3 separate regions of the Homo sapiens genome follow, and regions 2 and 3 are each linked to region 1. The links are contacts of gene promoters, found by promoter capture Hi-C in human tissues and cell types (Jung and others, 2019). All regions are on one chromosome and are shown on one strand. Each heading gives the region's core, a stretch centred on a gene start or on the middle of the fragment in contact. The rest is flanking DNA. Distances are from core to core; before and after follow the strand shown. Region 1 holds the start of CST5 (cystatin D). Region 2 overlaps SYNDIG1 (synapse differentiation inducing 1). Region 3 has its middle 67 kb from the start of LINC02967.

Region 1 (3,941 bases), core at 326-2,825:
GTGGGCTGCCAGGGTCGGGTGGGCATGAGGGTGGGCTTCAGAGGCAGGAGGAAACCATCTGGGGTGAGGCAGATATCACAGGTGTGGACAAAGTGGTAACACAAGTGTATGCATTTATGAAATCCCCCAGATTGGGCACATACAATTAGGCATTTTATTGTGTGTAAATTCTACCTCATTCAATGTAATTTTTAAAATATTACATGAGTTTTCCAAGCAGTGTACAGAGGACCAGTGCTGGCAGCACGTCTCCCAGAGGGGAGGAGCAAGAGAGGCTCTTGGGCTCCCACATTCATCCTGTGGCTGCTGCTCCTTCTCCTGACACCCCCACCACCTGCCAGGGGTCTCCCTGCGCCTTCCACCTGGACACACCCACAGTTACCGTGAGACTCCAGGTCGTTCCCTTCCCTGCTCACACCCCCTCCAGGAGCTTCCTCTTCCTGGAGCAGGCATGCCCAGCCTTGCCTCAGGGCCTTTGCACTGACTATTCCCTGCTGCCTGGGGCTTCTCAACCTTTCCGGTCTCTTAGAGACTTCCCTGACCAGGGTCCAGTAGCACCCACCCTCTCTCTAACTGAGCGACTATAATTCCCTGATCTAAATTGTTGATCACCACTCTGCATCCTCCCACACACCCTAATGGCTGGGCTATGCAGTACCACAGCCACCAGCAGCCACTCGTGGCCACAGGGCACTTGAAATGGGGCTAGTCCACAGTGACGCTTGGTCTAACTGTAAAAAATACACAGGGAACTTCAAGACATTACACTCACACAAAAGAATGTAAACTAGCTCCTTAAGAATAGTCCTGAAGTGTTGAAGTATTTTGGATATATTAGGTTAAAGTAGAAATACCAAAATTACTTTCAGCTGTATCTTTTAACTTTTTCAAATGTGTTTTAAATTGCTCCTGGGTTTCTGTCACATCTCTGTTGGATGGCAGCTCTGCAAGTTCATGTCTACGGCTCTATTGCCCAGACTGCTTGGTGCAGGGGGAAGCTGGTGACAGGTTTGTTTATTGAATAATGAGGAGTTATGAAACGAGAACCCAGTGAACTTTACCCAAAGGTTAATTACTTTATGTTTGGCAAAGAAGTTCCCCAGAAGAGGGCATGGACAAGGTCATCCCGGAGCTTCTGAAACAGCTCCCTGCCCCAGGAATTCCCAGACCATGACCACGTGCTCCTGGATGCCCCTGACATCTGAAGACTTTAGAAGGCCAAGCCCTGTATTTCTCCCTTTCCTGTGGACATAGGTGGTCACCAGGTTTCACAGCCCAGGGAGCGGTGTCACCTCTCTGGAATCCAGAGTGAGCCAAGCTTTAGAGCACTGAGGAAGAGGGGCAGGGCTGTGGGGAGGTTGCGGTCAGGACAGGAGTGGGGAGGAGGATGAGGAGGAGGCATGGGAGGAGCGAAGGGAACTTAGGGAGGGAGGGAGGTGGTTGGGGGTGGAAAGGGAGATAGAGACAGAAGAGGAGGGGTAGAAAGAGGAGGAGGAGCCAGGGGCGGGGCCAGGGAGCAGGTGGGGTTGGGGGACACCCAAGTAGGATAAATGCACAGCTAGCTTCTGGCCTGGGCTTCCTGCCTCAGCCTTCTGCTGCTTTGCTCTCTGGGAGATCCAGCTCCTTGCTCTGTGTCCCAGTAGAACATGATGTGGCCCATGCACACCCCACTGCTGCTGCTGACTGCCTTGATGGTGGCCGTGGCCGGGAGTGCCTCGGCCCAATCTAGGACCTTGGCAGGTGGCATCCATGCCACAGACCTCAATGACAAGAGTGTGCAGTGTGCCCTGGACTTTGCCATCAGCGAGTACAACAAGGTCATTAATAAGGATGAGTACTACAGCCGCCCTCTGCAGGTGATGGCTGCCTACCAGCAGGTGCGTGCTACCACCACCCTGGGGGTCCTGAGTCCCAGCTGGGTTTTTTGCCTCACCCCCCAGAGCACTCCCAGCAAATCAACATTATCTAAACCGCAGACTCATTCAGCTTTCTCTGACTGTCTGCTGATGGTCTTCATGCCCTAGGACACTCCTTGGCCGTGAGTGCATGAGTTCAGCCCTGTCCTGTCCCCTCGGCCTCTTTTAACCTGCAGCAGCCACTGTGTCTGTACCATGACTGTGGCATTTCCCAGGGTCCAGCAGGTGTGGATGGAGACTGTGCTGACTCTGGGTGGGCTTGATGCTGCTCAGGATGAGATCCAGGCCACGAGGTTCATCTTCCTCCCTGAGTCCTCTCCACAGGGGCCACACGGGAACCTGACTCCTTGTCCTGGATAGCCCCGCTTCCCTCCCAAGTCACGCCCCTGGGCACAGCCCGTTATGGCTAGTGGCCTTCACTCTCAGGCTGGCTGACCACCCCCTACAGCCCAGGACAGCTGAGTTCCTGCTGGGGTAGAGCATGCCTGACCCTGCCTCTGCCAGCTAACGCAGAGTTAGACCTCAGCAAAATGAGGACAGCAATCACCCAGCAGAGTGAAGGAGGTGGTTGGGTCCAGAGGGAGGAAGCTTCAGCAGGGCTACCGAGCCCAGCTTGACCTACGTCCCATGGCAGAGCAGCAGTGACACAGCGACCACAGGGCTATATGGCCTGCCAGCCTTTAGAGCTCCTCCACCTTCTCTTGGAAAGTCAGAGGAGTCCAGACCAGCCCTGTTTCTCCTCCTGCAGCCCTCTCCCTGCACAGGAGGGGCATTCCCTGGTGCTGTGGTCCCTGCTGGCCTGCACTCCCTCTTAAGTGTGTCACTCACTGGGAGTGAAGCACAGAATGATGTAGATCGTTGGGCCCTGGAGCCTATTTTACAGAGCAGCAGACTGACACCGGAGGGATCACAGGACTTCCATGTGGTTCTACAGGACTTGTGTGTGGTTCCACAGGGCAAGGTCTAGCACCCTGGTCCCAGGGTCCCTCATCCCATGCTTCTCCACAGTTCTGACAAGTCATGTTTTGGGGCGGCACTGTGCAGGGAAAGCATTCAGTTCTCTTCTGAAGTTGCAACCCTAAGACATGCAGGTGTGTGACTCACTTTAGAAATATTGCCTTGAAAATCACACCTGGAATGGAGGCATGCAGGAGGCAATGTTTATTGGCCTAAAACATCAATGTATGTGAGCATCTCATCTCCTACTGAGAAATGAGGAAAAATACCTCTGGGTTAAATGGCAGGAATGAGATGCTCTGTGGACTGAATGCCAGGAGCTGGAAGTTAGCTGAAATTTCATCATCAGGTGGCAGCCTTCCTAGGATGGGACCAGTGTCCCTGCCCCCTGAGCACAGGTAGCAGAATTCAGTTAATCCTTTGCTGTGGGAAAGAGCATTCACTTGGTGCTTAGACCCTGCCCTGCAAGCCTGGTGCCAGGACTGTTTCTTTGTCCCACCCTGGCTGGTTCCCCAGAGCTGTGCCTTCTGTTCCTGAATCCAGTGAAGGGGGTTTTAGGCCCTGGCTTCCATCTGCCCTGCCCCTGCTTCTCTTTCTACTGGGCTGCATGAGACAGCTTGCTTGAGATACCCAGAGAAAACAAGTTACTAGGAAGGACTGGGACACACTACCACTGCCAGCCAGCAGGAGAAGGTGGCTTGTGTGCCTTTTGGGTGACAGTGTGGGCATGAAGCCCCAGGCAAGCCCAGTGACTCAGTCACAGTGAAGTGCCTGCGTGTGCATGAAACTGACAGCATGCTGCCCCTGCTTCCTGCTCTTCCACGCGTGTAGATCGTGGGTGGGGTGAACTACTACTTCAATGTGAAGTTCGGTCGAACCACATGCACCAAGTCCCAGCCCAACTTGGACAACTGTCCCTTCAATGACCAGCCAAAACTGAAAGAGGTATGTGCCTGATGTGGGTCAGGGGCATCAAGTACCGCAGAGCAGTGTGTGCATGTGTGTGTGTGTATGTGTGTGTGCACGCATCTGTACTCCTGCACATGCTTTGGAGGGCATGTGTGCATG
Region 2 (3,901 bases), core at 1,255-3,754, 730 kb before region 1:
CTCTGTCTGGGATTCTTATAACTCCCTAAGCACCAGAAAATGCTAAGCTAAGCAAAGAGGCAAGAAAAGGGGGACATTGCCGAGAACTGCCACCTCCAGAGTAGTGAAGCATGGCTCCTGTCCTCTTGCTATGACATTTTTCTACAGCAGAAGTGCAGATGGTAATGTGATGAGCACCTTTAAAACACCCATGACACTGAGACGTACGTAAAATAGCCCTGGATTCCCATGAGAATCTATAATGTGCTGATCAACCCATGACTCATTTGTCACCCCTCATTTAAATCTGTAGGTTTGGCTTGCACCAACATACATGTGAGTCCAGACACACAAAATTACTGTCCTCCACACAAAGCAGTACTGTATGCTGTTTTTCTGAACATCATCTAATCTTAGCTTTAATTCTAGAATGCAAGGGTTGGTCAAGAGAACTGAGCTTATATTATCAATATCATTCACATGATTCTCTCCATCTACACTACTTCTCAGCCCCATCCTTACTGACGGCCATCGGGCGGTCTGAGAGGTACTTGTTGCCTTATTTGTGGCTGAAAGCTTTTGCTTACCAACAGGAAAGGTAGTTTCAGTCACCTTTTAATTATTGTCTCATCCGTGAGATCAGCGTACATAATATCCTGTGTATTCCTCCCAAGCATCTTGTTAAGTACACAGGTTTCATGTTCCTATGTACAGAGGTCTGGACACGGGGGCCTTGCGGTGCTGTCACTTGAAGCAGGTCAGTTGGCGGGTGATGGATTGTCACTGTTAAGATTTTATTGGTGGGGCGCGGTGACTCACGCTTGTAATCCCAGCACTTTGGGAGGCTGAGGTGGGCAGATCACCTGAGGTCAGGAGTTTGAGAACAGCCTGGCCAACATGATGAAACCCTGTCTCTACTAAAAGTACTAAAATTAGCTGGGCATGATGGCAGGTGCCTGTAGTCCCAGCTACTTGGGAGGCTGAGGCAGGAGAATCGCTAGAACCCGGGAGGCGGAGTGAGCTGAGATTGCGCTACTGCACTCCAGACTGGGTGACAGAGCGAGACTGTCTCAAAAAAAAAAAATAGGAGATAATATTGCCAAAATTTAAAATAATTTCTGTATTATTTGTCATGGGTTTATACTCTAGAAAGCATTGATAGATCATATCTTTATAATTAAAATATCTTTTATTAGGTATACAACTGGAAGGAAACACTAAAATTCAGCACTGGAGACTAGAGGGTTTAGCTGCCGAAGATGTTTTGAATGTGCTCTGACATCTTGTTTCATAAGAGGATCTCATCCGGGAAAAGTGTTTAAAATAGATTTCTGTATAAACCTGTATTTTAAATATACTTGAAGTAAATTGCAGGACATTATGTTAATGCATTAACGTTACCTTCGGGTATCTGAGATACACATAACTGCCCTTGACTTACCCACTGTAAATATTGGGAGTTTTAAAAGATCATTAGGTTTTCGTCAAATGGAGTACACCTAAAAAGTCTACAAAAACGGAAGAAAGTAATTGATAGAAGGTTCTCCAACTGTGGCCAACTCAAGTCCCAGTGTGCTAGTGAGAGAGCAGTTGGGCTTCCCTGTCCCCACAGCTGCCTGTGAATTTCGGCCCTTGAAGCAGGGAGAGGGGGAGCCCGAGGCCGTCTCCACTGTGAATGTGGCCCATGGAGATGTCTCGCTCTTGAGGAGAAAAAGTCACAGCCAGGCAGCAGGAGGGGTGAACATTCGTCATGGGCCGAGGCTCTTCCTAGCCCCACTCTCCACCCCAGCAGCCCGGGTGAATCAGGCATTGAGGACGGCCCTTTGGCCAGAACCAGGGTGCCCAACTGGGACTCTCATCAGCCCGAACGAGGTGGAGTTTTCTTTCTTTTCTTTATTCTTTTTTTTTTTTTTTTTTGAGACGGAGTCTTGCTCTGTTGCTCAGGCTGCAGTGCAGTGGTGTGATCTTGGCTTATTGCAACATCCGCCTCCTGGGTTCAAGCAATGCTCCTGCTTCAGCCTCCACTAGTAGCTGGGATTACAGATGCACGCCACCACACCCAGCTAATTTTTATATTTTTAGTAGAGATGGGTTTTTGCCATGTTGGCCAGGCTGGTCTCGAACTCCTGACCTCAGGTGATCCAACTGCCTCAGCCTCCCAAAGTGCTGGGATTATAGGCATGAGCCATGGTGCCCGGCCAAGGTGGAGTTTTCAAAAAGAACTTTCACCAGGTCATCAATGGCAAACAAAGGCCAAATGAGTGGAAAGAAAGAGGTCCGTTCATATAACACATGATTCTTGCAAACTCCTTATTTCAAACTCCCTATTGACAGTACTGCCTCAACTGCCCAGGGCAGCTTCAAAATGAAGATCCCAGAATCATCCTCCAAACACTGCTTCTTCTGCTCGTCAGCATCCACTTTCCAAGTCAGCATCCAGGGGTAATCATTCTGACGAATACAGGAGCACACAGCCTTCTGCTGACTCCAATCTTCTTGCTTGGCAGCCTGGCCCCCACTGATCCTGTATGCTCCCCTACATAACCCCAGGGATGGGCACTTGTGCTGCGCTCTGCCCACCTGTAGCACAGAATCTAAACTCCGGATCTCTACTTCCAGAAAACCCATACCGTAAGGATTAACTGGGCTACAGTAAGTTTCCTAAATCTATTCAAAGTAGCATCCAGATGGACATTTCTAATTCAGATTTGTTCTCTTTTTATAATAACTTTCTCAATAATATAATATTCAATTCTATAATAACCTAAGGTTTTACCTTAAAGTGCAATTCCTGCTTTTGATTTAGCATGAGGTCAACAGAACCTAAGATTTGGGGACAAAGTGAAATCTGGGGTAATTATCTGCTAGATATCTATTAGAATTCAGTGAAATAGTTTCCCAGAGAAAATTGTTCATGAGTTGTCGCTCATGGCAATAGGGGTCAGTCCCCTGACCATCAGCTGTTCAGGAGGCAGGGACATCCCACTAACCACAGCCTCATAGCCACATCCCCTGACAGGTGGAGCTTTGAGACTTGGCTTGAGGCCATCTGAGGCCAGCACTGACTGCCCACATGCCTGTTCTGGAGACACTTGCAATGATGCTCCAGTGCCTCTGTGATCAACCAGCACATTGTTGGATCATCCCAGCCTCTGGCCAGGCTGGCCTGGTAGTCACAGAAATGGCCACAGATAGTGACCAGAAGCCGAGGGACACCACACAAAACCATAGTGCTGTAGGACCTGCACAGAAGTCCTCGATCTTAAAAGAGATGCAAAAGAAACATGTGGACAGCTTTACTGTCGGAGGCATGCTAAATTCTAAAAGCTTCAGGTACATCATTTAAAGAAAAATGATCACATGTTGGAAATGTAATTGGAGGTGAGCCCTAAGTCCAAAGGGAAGAGTGCACAGCTTGTAATGTAATGCATTGCTATGTCAACTCTGGGTCCCACACGTCACAGGCTTTGCAGACTCTGCCCTTGGACAATCAACATGCATGTTTTCTCTGCTACAGACAAATAATCACAAAATCAAGATGCTAATTACCAAGACAATGTATCACCTATCAGTGGAAAAAAAAATCTATCCAATCCACTGCAAGGAGCAAAGCAGACATGATGTATTTGTTCATTTATACACTAGAACAAGTTAAAATCAGTAACTAACTGCAGCATGGATTCCAGAGGAAAAAAATACATAAGAAATCTGATTTGTCTTGGCTGCACCAGATCATTAATATTTATATGGAATTGTTTAAATCCAGAAGTTGCAAAACAGCTCTCAGAAGCTACAATCAGCATATTAAATATGCATATTGAGACAGAGATACAGACTGGGGGAGGGAGAGAGAGAGAGGAGAGATACCATTTGACTATTTAACTGCCCTCACACATTTCCCTGATACAAGTTAAAATAAACC
Region 3 (3,790 bases), core at 999-3,498, 970 kb before region 1:
AGGAGGAGACTGAAACACAAAATATAATTTAAAGAATTTACTTGAGTCAAGGTGAGGAGAGCTACCTGAAAGACTCAGCCTCAAGTAACCTGTTACAAGCAGATTTTTAAAGGCAAAAAAAGTAGCAAGGGACAGGGAGGTGGCTGATACAAAGTTGTTTGTCAGGGATTCTCACTGGTTTACAGAAATAACATTGATTAGTGATGGGCCGTACATTGTTAAGCTGTATGTAGGGTGCGGGTAATAGTGTCTGGTGTGGCATTATTCAGTTAATTTACAGCTACTTGTGTCATTAGGAAGTGGTTTCAGGAGATGTTCACATAGCTCAAGGTTGGGTAGGATGCGATTGCTGTCTCATTTAACTCTCTCTGGATCTGACAATTTAAAAGGACTTGCATTCCTCAGGCAAAAGTTCTTTTGTTTTCTCGCAGGAAATACTTTGCTGAATTTGATTAATAACATTAGCAGAAATTTCTGCTTCCATTAAAATTGTTAATCACTTTAAATCTAAACAAACCAAGAAAATAATGATTATTAATGATTATCACATGACTGTTTACTTTTAAAGTTAAGTTTATTGAGGTATAATTTGCAGATTAAAACTCACCCTTTTACGTGAACAATTTGATGATTTCTCTTGGGTTAGAACCTAAGAGTTTGACTATGGTGTTGTATGGTAAATATATGTGAAACCGCCTTTGCAAAATTATGACAGTGAGAGAAATCTAACAGAGTTGACTCCATCTTGCTTCTAACTCCAAGCTGTCTTTGGTCATTGCTTGGCATAGGCCAAGCTAACTTTGGGAGAAATTTAGTTTATAGTTTAACCTTAAAGCAAGGATGATAATAGCTCTTCCCCAAAACTAAGACACCTTTGTAAAAACTAATGAAAGGCCACAAGCTTAGGATTTTGAGAGGGGCTGAATTCTACTAAGATGCAGGTGTAGTTAACCAATACTAGCCATTGTTCCAGAAGTCACAAGAAGTGTGACTTCTCCAATTACTCCTGTAGATGACATTCTTATTGTAGAACCCAAGATTGGCCTTTTGAGATTTTTTTCCCCCAGACTTCTGCATTTCTGATAACTAGTGATGCTACCTAGACTTGAGGCTTGTGACTCAATGGTCCCATGCCCCCCCCAAAGAGGTGGACTCAGTGCACAAGAACTGTTTTCCACACCCGTATGATTTTATCCCCAGCCAGGCAGCAGCACCCATTCCTTAGACCCTGGCCCACCGAACCGTCCTTGAAAAACCGTAACCTCTGAGCCTTCTAGGAGACTGATTGAGTGATAACTTGAGTTATCCTGCATGGCTGGCCTGGTGTTAATTAAACTTTTTATTTACTGCAATGGCATGGTCTCAGCAAATTGATTTTGTCTGTGTAATGGGCTGGAAGAACCCATTGAGCAATTACATATACTTAACTTTATTAGAAACTGCCAAACTCTTTTTCAAAATGTGGTACTACTTACATTCCCACCAGCCAAGTATGAAAGTTCCATTCACTTCATACCTCACCATCACTTGTCATTATCTGTATTCTTCTGTTTAGATTATCTATCTATATATATATATAGCCACAAATATATAGCCACATATATAGCCATATATATATATATATATATATATGATATGGGGTCTCTCTTTGTCATCCAGGCTGGAATGCTGTGGTGCAATCCTAGCTCACTGCAGCCTCAACCTCTCAGGCTTAAGCTACCCTCTCACTTCAGCCTCCTGAGTAGTTGAGACTAAAATCATTCGCTACCATACCTGGCTACTTTTTTAAAATTTTTAAAATTTTGTTAGAGATGAGGTCTTGCTGTGTTTCCTAGGCTGGTCTTGAACTTCTGCGCTCAAGCAATCATCCTGCCTCAGTCTCCCAAAGTGTTGGGATTACAGGTGTAAGCCACTGCCCCCAGCTCGCTGTCTGTACTCTTAATTTTAATCATTTTAGTGTGAGGTGAGGTGAGGTGAGGGCTCATTTGCATTTCCCTCTTGCCTAGTGATGCAGAGCCTCTGACCACCCATAGCTCTTCTAAATGGAGTGTCTCCTCAAATCTTTTCCCATCTTTTTAAGTTAGACTGTTTGTTTTCTTATTATTGAGTTTTGAGATTTCTTTATATACATTCAGATACAATTCCTTTATCAGGTATGCAGGCCTTAATCAGTAAATATTTTCTCTCAGTGTGTGGGTTTTGATTTTCTTAATAGTGTCTCTTTGTAAAACAAAAGGTTTTCATTTTCGTCAAGTCTAGTTTATCATTTTCTTCTTTTATGAGTCATTTTTGGTATTCTAGCAACAACTTACTTTTCAAACCAATGTCACAAAATTTTTTTCCTCATGTTTTCTTCTGGAAGTTTTGTAGTTTCAGCTTCTGCATTTAGTTTATGATTCATTTTGAGTTAATTTTTGCATATGGTGGAAGGTAAGGGTTGAAGTTATTTTATGCATATGATTGTTCACTTGTTCCAGCACCATTTGAAGAGACTATCTTTTCCCTATTGGATTACCTTGGCACATTTGTAAAAATCAATTAATTGCTGGGTGTGGTGGCTCACTCCTGTAATCCCAACACTTTGGGAGGCTGAGGCAGGGGGGCCACCTGAGGTTGGGAGTTTGAGACCAACCTGACCACCATGGAGAAACCCTGTCTCTACTAAATACACAAATACTTAGCCAGGCATGGTGACACATGCCTGTAATCCCAGTTACTCAGGAGGCTGAGGTAGGAGAATTGCTTGAACCCAGGAGGTGGAAATTGCAGTGAGCCAAGATCACGCCATTGCACTCCAGCTTGGGCAACAAGAGCGAAACTCCGTCTCAAAAAAAAAAATCAATTAATCATATATGCATAGTCTATTTCCAGAAAATTTTGTTCCATTGATATATGTGATGACCTGTGCCAATACTACACTGGTTTTATTTTTGTAAATTTGTAGTTGCTTATTACTGAAAATAATTTTATCATATAGAAGAGGTGGGTTTTAAAAACTGCTCTGCTCTGAATGTTAAGCACACCTAAGACATCACTGACTAGAAGAGATGAATACAAAGCAGATGAGAAGCTTCTGAGTGGGGAATCTGTAGCCTGACTTCCCCTGCAGCTCCCTGAGCAGAAACCAGAGGTACCCTAGCCTGGGGGAGAAGGATTGTGGTCCCCTGCCCCATGGCAAGAAGCTCTGTTTGGAGCAGTTCCTGGTGTGGCCATGGGCTTGGTGCTGGGGAATACCCTGGAGAGCTGTTGTCCCTGCAGGGTTTGAACCAAGGGGAAGAGATGCTCCATGCCGTGAAATCGGTAGGAGATTAGAGTTTCCATGAGCTGCAAGGCAGGGTTTCACCTGCACATATTCATAGAATGAGTCCTCCTGCTCTCAGGCTCTGGTGTTCATTTCCAAGACACTGGCTTGAGGCAGTGGACAGTAAATCAATAGTTCATCTTGTAAAAACCTCGTGTAATTAGCTTGGGGGCTGTAGTGAGGAAAGAGAGCCTTCTGGGCTGCTGATGCATTTGACTTGAATGACATCCCAGAAGAACACCTTTCAGTTCTCTTCAAGCCATTTTTGAAGATCCAGAGCTTCCTGTGTGGGAGAGCACGTTGGGGCACTGAGCCCAGTCAGCGAATGGCACAACTGCAAGCTCAGTTGGCCAGAGCAATGGACCAGCATGGCAATGGCTGTGGTTTCTATTCTGGGTGTAGACAGTCCTGCAGGAGAGCTGACGTTTGTCCTACTGAGCTCTGCTCTGCTGACTTACAGGTGGTATTGTGGACACCAGTGTCAGCACT

The links. Contacts are between HindIII fragments. The study calls those that stand out against the background at their distance.
Region 2: a contact is called between a fragment that was not itself captured here and the fragment with the promoter of CST5 in region 1, in 2 of the 25 tissues and cell types used here (dorsolateral prefrontal cortex and lymphoblastoid cells).
Region 3: a fragment that was not itself captured here is called in contact with the fragment with the promoter of CST5 in region 1 in 2 of the 25 tissues and cell types used here (dorsolateral prefrontal cortex and spleen).

What each region holds. Positions count from the first base shown.
Region 1 is chr20:23,877,382-23,881,322 of GRCh38, reverse strand. CST5 (cystatin D) reads left to right here and starts at 1,575. Exons shown (of 3, transcript NM_001900.5): 1 at 1,575-1,877; 2 at 3,705-3,818. The coding sequence starts at 1,647. RefSeq lists an enhancer at 1,253-2,082. The HindIII fragment of the contact is 5,935 bases long and covers 1-3,941 here.
Region 2 is chr20:24,605,356-24,609,256 of GRCh38, reverse strand. The region is part of intron 3 of SYNDIG1 (synapse differentiation inducing 1); the gene reads right to left. Among named protein-coding and RNA genes, the nearest start is that of SYNDIG1, 140 kb to the right of the region's middle. The HindIII fragment of the contact is 4,675 bases long and covers 167-3,901 here.
Region 3 is chr20:24,850,012-24,853,801 of GRCh38, reverse strand. No RefSeq gene overlaps it. Among named protein-coding and RNA genes, the nearest start is that of LINC02967, 67 kb to the left of the region's middle. The HindIII fragment of the contact is 4,777 bases long and covers 1-3,790 here.